Linked DNA regions of Homo sapiens: region 2 is linked to region 1. The links are contacts of gene promoters, found by promoter capture Hi-C in human tissues and cell types (Jung and others, 2019). All regions are on one chromosome and are shown on one strand. Each heading gives the region's core, a stretch centred on a gene start or on the middle of the fragment in contact. The rest is flanking DNA. Distances are from core to core; before and after follow the strand shown.

Region 1 (5,311 bases), core at 2,001-4,500:
CCAGAACCGTCCTAGGCCTGACAGTCCCTTCAAACCTTCCAAACCTCCTCGGTGCCCAGAATCCCTTGCCTGGCAGGAAAGGGCCAGATCTGCAAAAGCCTCAAGGGGCCTTCAGAGAAGAAACCTTGAAATTCAAGATTGTGAGACCATCTCTGAGGGGTGTGGATGGCACTTGCTGGAGGACAGAGGACACTGGGCCAGTGACCCTGAGTCAGCTGGACACCTTCAGGGTACAGAGCTGAACCATGGGCCCAGCTCAGCCACCGTGGAGGGCTGAGCCTCTGAGCAAAAGCCAGGCGGGAGGAGCTACAGTGGGCTCCCTCTCATGTCCTCGTCTCCCAGGCCTTTGGCAGAGTGTTCGCCCTGAGTTCCTGATCAAGGAAGGGGCAGTGGGAGGTGTCAGGTTTCCTGCTAACCTGGGCAGGCTGGATCATAAGCCTCAAATGTTTCCAGTGATTCATGTCCAACAGGACGGAGATCAAGCCCCACTGGCTAGTGAGCAGAGCCCTCCACAGTCGGTCAGACTCTGGCCACCAGGCTTCCCTTTGGCTCCACGGAGCCAGCCACAGCTCCTCTTTACTCACTTGCTCACTCATTCATTCATCAAATATTTTTGAAGTCTTAAAACATGTTAAGTACCATTCTAGGTGCTAGGGATACAAACAATATTCCTTACATCTTAGTAGTGGGAAATGCAGTGAGATAAATAGATGCAATCAATGGTGTGTCAGATGATGGTAATGCAAAGGAGAAAAGGTGGATAAGAGAAGATTCAAAAGTGTTGGAGTCAGGGAGGAGTGTTGATCTTTTCTTTTCTTTTCTTTTCTTTTGAGACAGGGTCTCGCTCTGTCGCCCAGGCTGCAATGCAGTGGCGCGATCTCGGCTCTCTGCAACCTGCGTCTCCCTGGTTCAAAGGATTCTCCTGCCTCAGCCTCTGGAGTAGCTGGGATTATAGGCGCGTGCCATCATGCCCGGCTAATTTTTGTATTTTTAGTAGAGACAGGGTTTCGCCATGTTGGCCAGGCTGGTCTGGAACTCCTGACCTCAGGTGATCCGCCCACCTCGGCCTCCCAAAGTGTTGGGATGACAGGCATGAGCCACTGTGCCTGGCTGATATTTTAAAATAGGGTGACCGTGGGAAAGCTTCATTTAGAAGTTGACATTTGACTAAGGGAAGCAAAGAAGTGAACTACTGTATTTGCATTTCTGGGAGTGTGGGAGAAATAGTCTCTCTCTGCCCTGCTGCTGTTTTTTCTCCCAATCTCTCCCACAATACCTGGCTCAGCTCTGCAGCATCCCAGGGCTCCCCTGAGACTGTAGCATCCACCCTGTCCAGCCCTGGGACTGTGCTCTCAGCCATCCTGCCTGCAGCCTGCCCTGACCTGCCCCTTTATTCTCTCAGCCTTGGCCCTTGGTTCTGCCGGCACCTGCCTTTCTAGCCTGACACCACTGTGGCTCCGCTGTGTCCCCCAGCCTCACAAAGTCCAAGCTCAGCTCCAACATCAGCTCCCTACCCCCTACTCAGAGGAGAGTGGCTGTCATGGGAAACTTTTATTAATGAGAATAGCCAAAATCGAGGGGCTGGTCACCAGCCATATTGTGCTGAGTGTCAACTGTGTGCATTCCCTCCACATTCTCCCTGTGTGCATTCTCCCTGTATGCCGTGGAGAGACCCCATGTCCCAGCCACTGTGGTTTCCCGCCAAGAGGGTGTGGTAACCTCCTTACTGATCCTGCCTCTGCTTCTACTCTTTGTGCTTCACCTCAACCCATTCCCCACACAACAATCAGACATTTCCTTTATTTTTATTTTTATTGTTTGAGACAGAGTTTTGCTCTTGTTGCCCAGGCTGGAGTGCAATCACATGATCTTGGCTCACTGCAGCCTCCGCCTCCTGGGTTTAAGCGATTCTCCTGCTTCAACCTCCCTAGCAGCTGGGACTACAGGCACCCGCCACCATGCCCGGCTAATTTTTGTATTTTTAGTAGAAACGGGATTTCACCATGTTGGCCAGGCTGGTCTCAAACTCCTGACCTCAGGTGATCCACCTGCCTGGGCCTCCCAAAGTGCTGAGATTGCAGGCGTGAGCCACCGTGCCCAGCAGAGATTTCCTTTCGACACAGGAATTCCATCACACCACTGTGCCTATCAAAAGGTGCTCACTTTTGTGCAAAAAAAAGCTTCTGCCTCTTTTTTTTTTACAATCCATTCGCAAAACCGCACACCAGCCAAACTGTTCTCTGTGGTCTACCAGGCCCCACTGGCTCTGGACCCATCTGACCTTATCGCCCTCCTCTCTCTCTCTCCTCCCGCACTCTGGGGAGCCACACTGGCCTCTTCCCTTTCCCAAGCACACCCTACCCGGGGCCTTTGCCTCTGTCTGGGGCACCCTTCCCTCACATCGTCAGCCTTTTCTGGTTCTCTGGGTCCTAGCTCGAATCCACGCTCATCAGAAGGGTCTTCCCGGGCCACTCTGTCTCACCCCATCTCAGCTTTCAGCACTCTCTGCCATATCACCATTGTTTGCATCATATTTTGTATTATTATTTATGAGTGTACTTTGTTGTTGTTGTCATTTTGAACTTTTTAATGTAAATACCATTGTTCACAGCTGTTTTCTCCCCTTCAGAACAGTGCCTGTACCAGATTTGGAACTCAATGAATGTTTGTTGAATGAATGAATGAATGGCCTAATTTAACTCTTACAGCAAACCCCATTGGTTCATTTCAGTGGTTCTCAACCATGACTATGCTGAGAATCTCTTGGAGAGTTTAATAAAAAATACTGATGTTCAAACCCAAACCCAGTAGGTTCTAATTTAATTGATCTGGGGTTGGGTGAGTCTGGGCATTATTATTATTTTTTAAAATCCTCAAGTTGATCCTAATGTGTAGCCATCTATACACCAAAACTGACACTTAAAACTTAAACTGGTGACTCCTGGTAGAGAAAAGCCTCCCAAGGCAGGGCCCATCAGTCAGATTTCCCATTTTCACTGAAGCTCATACCTGCAGGAAGCCAAGGCCACTCCCAGGGTTCCTGGGGCCAAGGTGGGGCTGTGCTGGGGGTGGGGCCACAAACTCTGTGGCCCTTAAGAAGGAAGGTTGTAGCCTGAAGAGGAGGCTCCTGGCTTCTCCTTGTGATCAGGGCAGGACCCGCAGACGACTGGGCATTCTAAAGAATCCACAGGCAGAAATGAAGTCCCTTCCTGGGCACACAGAGGCCACAGCAGCCTCAGCAGCAAAGTTCTGAGTTCTGGGGTTCTAGAGGACCAGGGGTGACCCTGTAGAAGAATGGGCCATTGTTGAGTAAGAGGGGGCCCTGCCTGGCAGCCCTTGCTGAGTTTGCTTGAGGGGCTAGAAACAAAACTCAGTGTGGGGTGCTGGGTATGGCCCAGGAGGGCTCTGAACTCAGTGCCTATAGATTGGAATTTGAATCCCAGCTCTGTCTTGAACAGCTGTATGGCCTTGAGAATGTCACTTACTCTTTCTGAGGTTCAGTTTCCATGCCTGTTACATGGCATCTAACTCATGGGGGTGTTGTAAGCAAAGTAAATTATGTGGAATTTAGAAGATAATTAATGATATGAAGAAAAATAAAACCTGGAAGGATGATGAGGAACGCCTGAGAGGGGGATGGGATAAAATAAGAGGATTTATGCAAAACGAGCAGCTCAGTACCTAGAAGGCAGGAGCCCCTCACGCATCACCACCCTGGCCTCATCTCCTAGGGGAGAAAGATCTCCACTCACCCTGCTCCAGCCACACTGGTGTCCCTGCCAGTCCTCCAATACAATGTCTGGGCCTCTACACTTGTGGTTTCCCCTGTTAGGGAGGCTCTTCACCCAGGTGGACTCAGGGTTCACCCCTTAGCTCGTTCCAGTCTTTGCCCAAATGTCACTTCCACAGTTGGGCCTTTCCTGGCCACTTTGTTTAAATTTGTAAGTGCCCCATCCCCCTCTCAGGCGTTCCTCATCCTCCTTCCAGGCTTTATTTTCCTTCATAGCATTAATTTTCTTCTAAACTCCACATAATTTACTTTGCTTACCTGGTGATAGGTGCTCAGTAAATATTTGTTGAATGAATAAAGAAAAGGCTGTTGATATTATTAGCATCGTTATTACTGTCAGAGTTTGCAGCCTTTGGCTATCTGCTGCCCAACTGTTATTAAATACTGATGGAGATGACTAACATTCATTTCACTAAATTTTAACATCTGTGGGTTTTAGTCCTAGCGCTTTGCTCTTCTCTTTCTTTTCTTTTTCTTTGAGACAGTGTAGTGGCGCGATCTCCACTCACTGTAGCCTTCACCTCCAGGGTTCAAGCGGTTCTCCTGCCTCAGCCTCCTGAGTAGCTGGGACTACAGGCATGCACCACCACGTCTGGCTAATTTTTGTATTTTTAGTAGAGACGGGGTTTCACCACATTGGCCAGGTCGGTCTCAAACTCCTGACCTCAAATGATCTGCCTGCCTCGGCCTCCCAAAGTGCTGGGATTACAGGCGTGAGCCACGGCATGCGGCCCCACTCTTCTCTTTCCATACTTAACTTCCATACTTTTGTTGGCTTGTTTAAATGCATGACTTCAAATACACCCCTTTATAAGTTACTCTCTCATTTACTCTCCAGGATTTGATCAATTGATTACATTTACTATTAAGACCGTTTTCCATCTGCCTATTAGAAAAGCTCTTTTTGGTTGAACCACACTCACTGAATATCTGAATGTCTTAATTTGAACTCATCATGTCCCTTTCAACTTTTCTTGGCAATTATTCCTTTTCTGGATGTTGTGTTTGCAAATAATTCCTGGGATGTGTTTGACTCTTTTTTCTCCCAGGCCTAAATCAACAATCTAGTCTGGCATATATTATTTTGACATCTTTCACACTTGTCAACTGTTAGTCACAAACTAAAACACTTGGGTTATTATCCCAAATGTCCTTCATTCATTTTCCTTCACTCTTGCACACAGTTGTTTCTTGACATAACATAGGCACTTTTATGATGATACTCATTTACTGATAAAGCTGCTGCTGCTTTTTTTTTTTTTGACAGAGTCTTGCTCTCTTGCCCAGGCTGGGGTGCAGTGGTGCAATCTTGGCTCACTGCAACCTCCGCCTCCTGAGTTCAAGTAATTCTCCTGCCTCAGCCTCCTGAGTAACTGGGATTACAGGCATGCACCACCACGGCCGGCTAATTTTTGTATTTTTAGTAGAGACGAGGTTTCACCATTTTGGCCAAACTGGTCTCAAACGCCTGACCTCAGGTGATCCACCTACCTCGGCCTCCCAAAGTGCTGGGATTACAGG
Region 2 (5,311 bases), core at 1,992-4,491, 810 kb before region 1:
GGGAGAAAATCAATGCACAGATGTTTGGGAAGCCCCAGCTGTGTTTAATTTGAAATCCTCTGTTTAAATTCTCTCTCTCTCACCTCACCAGTGGGCAGTAACTCATCTCTGAGAGACTGTCCAAGCCCAGCTCTGGGTAGAACTCAGAGATGTCACATCCCTAGGAACCGAGAACTGTGTATTGTAAACAGTCTCTGAGATTTGGAGTTGTTAGCTTTTTCCAGCCTTGAAATCTCATGGGGGCAGCTGTTTAAGTTGGAACTCTCACAAAGGGCATATGAAAATCGCAGAGCGAGGTGTCAGGAAATGGAATTCCACATACATCCAGTTGCCACGTTTGGTGTCAGCACTATTGTTTTTACAGCTTACATTCCCGCCCCGCCCCCCCCCCCCCCCCCACAAATAACATTTGGGCTGTAAGGGGATGTTTCGCAAATCAGACACGTTGTTTACTTTTAGGCCTGTAATGCTATGGAGAAACTTGGTGACTCTAACAATTTAGATGTTGGGTAACAACACCAAACTGAAAACACATGTCAACCTATCTCTTGACATGGTGAACGTTCTCACCATTCTCTGCATATTGGAATTGCATATTAAATAATCCTTTCTAAATGTCTGAACATCTTTTTTTTAATTTTTAAATGACATTTTTCTTTCTGAGGGTCAACCATTGAGGTGATGAAGTGTGGCAGTTATTTAATTCCTTATGCTGACTTTTGAATTTGTAAAGTCTTCAGGGCATGGCATTAAATTTAGTTCTTCAAAGTAGAAAGAGCTTTTCTGTTTCTGATGATAAAAGATAATCAAAGGTGTTTGGGGCCACATTGTGTGACTGCGGTCTTCCATTAAAAGTCCTGAACGCTAAATAGCAGACGAGTACTCAAAAAAAGAGTTCTGAACATGTTGGCCGGGTGCAGTGGCTCATACCTGTATTTCCAGCACTTTGGGAGGCTGAGGTGGGAGGATTGCTTGAGGTCAGGAGTTCAAGACCAGCCTGAGCAACATAGTGAGAACCTGCCTCTACATAAAATTAAAGAAAAAAAATTAGCCAACCATGGTGGTACATACCTGTAGTCCCAGCTACTCGGGAGGCTGAGGCAGGAGGATTGCTTGAGCCCAGGAGTTCATTGCTGCAGTAAGCTATGATTGCACCAATGCACTCCAGCCCGAGCGACAGAGCAAGACCTTATCTCTAATAAAATAATAATAAAATTTAAAAAAATTAAATAGTCCTGAACATGGCTGTGACCCTTTGGCATGAATGAGAATGTAGAATTCAGCAATTCCCCGCAAAGCTGAAATGTTTTCAGCATTGAAGGTCATATTTCCAGAGTAACATGTATTCACTGAAGCTTATGTTCCTTTTGGGGGGAATTTGGGACTGAGTATAAATAATCAGTGTGAGTTTATGAAGCCTTGGGGATTTACTTATGGGGTCATTTCTTAGAAAAGAATGTTTAAGGATGCTGATCACCCTGAAATCAACAGAAGAAGCCAGTCTGCAAAGCAATTGAACAAAGATGGGGCCACAGATGAGGACTGTGATGAGAGAGATGTCATTCACTTCTCTCAGTGATTTTGAGTGCTTCCTGGTTCAGTATACAAGCAGGATCCTTTTGGATAAGGCTTTCCTGAAGAAGGTGATAGTGTATTTTCTTAAGAGACTGTTATGGGCCGGGTGCGGTGGCTCACGCCTGTAATTCCAGCACTTTGGGAGGCTGAGGTGGGAGGATCACTTGAGGTTGGGAGTTTAAGGCCAACCTGGGCAACATAGCGAGACCCCATCTCTACAAAAAAAAAAAAGGAAGGGAAAACAAAGAAGAGGTTCTGTTGTAAGCAGAGTCCGGCTCTCTCTGTGAAAAGCACAGTGGTTTAGCTTGTCATTGTATGCTCAGCACCTCGCACAGGCCTTGGCACATAGTAAGTATCTCAACTTGTATATAGAAACCATTAATTTTTCAGATCTGGAGTGTCCTACCCATACCAGACATGCCAGAGTGAATTTTCTCTTTTTTTCTCTTTTTTTAGTGTTCAAAGCTTCTTTCAGACACCAGTGTTATTCAGTTCTACCCAAGCAAATTTGTCCTTATCACCGACATACTTGATACATTTGGTAAGTACCTGTCATATGCATCTTAGATCTAGGAAATGTGTTCGTTTTGTCAAGAATTGGGTGGTAGAGTTACTGTAAATTAGGTTCTGCTGTGGTTTAAGTTATTAAGTAAGTCATGGGAGAGATCAAACCGTTCCCCCCCACGCCCATTAATAAGGGCGCTATTTTTGAAACATTCTAAAATTTCTAAAATTTTATTTTTTCTTCTTTTTTTTTTTGAGTCAGGGTCTTGCTCTGTTATCCAGACTGGAGGGCAGTGGCGCAGTCATGGCTCACTGCAGCCTCAAACCCCTGGGCTCAAGCCGTCTTCCTGCCTCAGCCTCCTGAGTAGCTGGGGCTACAGGCTCATGCCACCGTGCCCAGCTAAGTTTTTTTTTTTTTTTTTGGTAGAGACAGAGTCTCGCAGTGTTGCCCAGGCTGCTCTCAAACTCCTAGCCTCAAGTGATCCTCCTGCCTTAGCCTCCCAAAGTGCTGGAATTACAGGCATGAGCCACCATGCCTGGCCTGTTTTTCCTAATCTTGTGATAGACTAGTAAAGTGAATGAGTGAAGCAGGGCAGGCTGGGGGCACTAAGCAGCATGGGTCCCTTGCCGTCTCACAGGCACCTGAAACTGAACTTGGCATCTGTTCCCAGCCCTTTCTCTTTTCCCACTGAGTTTCTGTCTCCAGGAATGGCACCACCATGTACCCAGTTGCCTGAGCTGGGAATCTGAGCATCTTCCCCCACATGCCCATGTCCAGTCACCAGATTCTTCGGTTCAGCCTCCTAAAGCTCTCCCCAGCATGTCTATTTTTTTCTTTCTTCACTGTTAAAATTTTTTTTTTTTTTTTTGGAGATAAAGTCTCTGTCACTCAGGCTAGAGTACAGTGGCGTGATGTTGGCTCACTGCAACCTCTGCCTCCGGGGTTCAAGTGATTCTCCTCCCTCAGCCTCACCAGTAGCTGGGATTACAGGCACGCACCACCACGCCTAGCTAGTTTTTGTATTTTTAGTAGAGATGGGATTTCACCATGTTGGCTAGGCTGGTCTCAAACTCCTGACCTCAAGTGATCTGCCCTCCTCGGCCTCCCTAAGTGCTAGGATGACAGGCATGAGCCACTGTGCCCAGCCTCACTGTTAAAATTTTAATCCTAGCCACAGTCCTCTCCCACCTGGATAGCTTCCTGCATCACTGTGGCTGCCCCTAGTCCCACACACCACCTCACAGGTAGAGAGACCTTTTGGAGCCAGGTAGAAAGGTTTAGACTGAAGAGAATAACCTGGAGGAGCAGGAGGCCCCTGTGCTGCTTGGCAGTGGTTGGTTAGGCCAGAACATCGTGCCATTAGCAGTTTGCTCAAACCATGCAGCCCTCTAAGCTGTATATGATGTGCCCCACAGCAAGGCACCCCACCAGAACCAGGAAATAGGGGCGCCTTCTGAGAGCTGAACACGTGGAAGATCAGAACAGAGACATTCACTGTCTTACAGGGACTAATGGGCTCCCAACCCAGCAAATCTTATCTGTAAACCCATCGAAAGATACAATGTGTCAGAAAGCAGACTATCAATCTGAGAGACTCATTCATTTCTGTGCATCCCAGTCCTGTCCAAGAGACCGGAGGCCTGAGTGCGCTAGCTAAAACAAGTGACAAGAAAGCTAACTAACCTTGAAAAAGTGGGTCTTTATTGGCTTATGCTGAAAAGTCCAGGGGTAGTTTGGCTTCAGGTGCAGCTGGATCCAGGAACCCAAACAGTGTCATTAAGACCTTGCCCTTGGGCCGGGCATGGTGGCTCATCACACTTGTAATCCCAACACTTTGGGAGGCCGAGGTGGGTGGATCATCTGCAGTCAGGAGTTCAAGACCAGCCTGGCCAACATGGTGAAACCCCGTCTCTACTAAAAATACAAAAATTAGCTGGGTGTTGTGGTGCACACCTGTAGTCCCAGCTACTTGGGAGGCTGAGGCAGGAGAATTGTTTGAACCCAGGAGGTGGAGATTGCAGTGGGCCAAGATCACGCCACTGCACTCCAGCCTGGGCGACAGGGCGAGACTCCGTCTCCAAAAAAAAAAAAGAAAAGAGAAAAAAAAAGACCTTGCCCTTGGTTGGGTGCATTCTCGAGCTTCACAAGCTGTCCTCAGCTTCTGCTAGCTTTATTGCTAGTGGTCCCAGGGCATGGAAAGAGCTACTTTCTCCAAGCATTCCCACAGAAGTTTCAGAATCCCATCTTATTGGCCTGGCTTGGATCACATGTCAGTCCCTGAGCCAGTTGTGTTATCTGGGGGATGAAATGCACTGATTATCCAGGCCTGGGTCACCCCAAAACTAAAAGAGTGATACAGTTAGCAGAAGAAAGGGGAGTGGATGCTACCTGGGCAAAAAGAAGAGATGTCCCAGCTGACAGATGAGCCCTGATGGGTTCAGATGGCCCGGAGAGGTGGTATCAGGCTCTCTGCAGGCCACTAGGGAGGTGTCAGCAAACAGAAGGGATAAAAATCCTTGCCTTGGCTAGGCACAGTGGCTCACGCCTATAATCCTACCACTTTTGGAGGCTGAGGTGGTTGGATCACTTCAGGTCAGGAGTGCGAGACCAGACTGGCTAACATGGTGAAACCCCATCTCTACTAAAAATATAAAAATTAGCCAGGCTTGGTGGCAGGCACCTGTAATTCCAGCTACTTGGGAGGATGAAGCAGGAGAATCGCTTGAACCCGGGAGGTGGAAGTTGCAGCGAGCTGAGATCGCGCTGCTGCACTCCAGCCTGTGCCACAGAGCTGAGATTTCGTCTCAAAAAAAAAAAAAAAAAAAAAAAAAAAGAAGAGAAAAAAAATCCTCGCCTTTGTGGTGCTTATGTTTCCAAAAAAGAGAATTTACAAAACAATTAAGTCAACCCAATTGTATGTTAGACAATGATCCATGCTATGGAGAAAACCAGAGTGGGGTGAGGGGGTGAAGAGGAATGGAGGGAATTAGGTGAGGGGGTAGGGGTGCAAGTTTAAGTAAGGTGCTCAGAGGAAGCCTCGTTGAGAGGTTACCTGAGCAGGTGCTTGAAGGCGGTGAGAGGGGAGAGGTGAGCCCTCTGGGTCTGTGGGGTGGAGGCCAGGGGCAGAAGAGGCCAAGGAACAGCTTGTGCGGAGATCCTGGGGTGGGAGCATTGGGAGCATGCCAGGCTGGCCTGAGAACCAAGGAGGCCAAGAGAGAGGCGATGAGATGA

Evidence for each region. The method cuts DNA at HindIII sites, captures the fragments that hold promoters and counts their contacts. A contact is called where the count stands out against the background at its distance.
Region 2: a contact is called between a fragment that was not itself captured here and the fragment with the promoter of PDILT in region 1, in 3 of the 25 tissues and cell types used here (aorta, hippocampus and lymphoblastoid cells).

The regions. Positions count from the first base shown.
Region 1 is chr16:20,401,487-20,406,797 of GRCh38, forward strand. PDILT (protein disulfide isomerase like, testis expressed) reads right to left here and starts at 3,251. Exons shown (of 12, transcript NM_174924.2): 1 at 3,010-3,251. The HindIII fragment of the contact is 3,912 bases long and covers 1,662-5,311 here.
Region 2 is chr16:19,589,759-19,595,069 of GRCh38, forward strand. It overlaps VPS35L (VPS35 endosomal protein sorting factor like), which reads left to right. Exons shown (of 31, transcript NM_020314.7): 8 at 2,032-2,116. Among named protein-coding and RNA genes, the nearest start is that of VPS35L, 37 kb to the left of the region's middle. The HindIII fragment of the contact is 7,605 bases long and covers 1-5,311 here.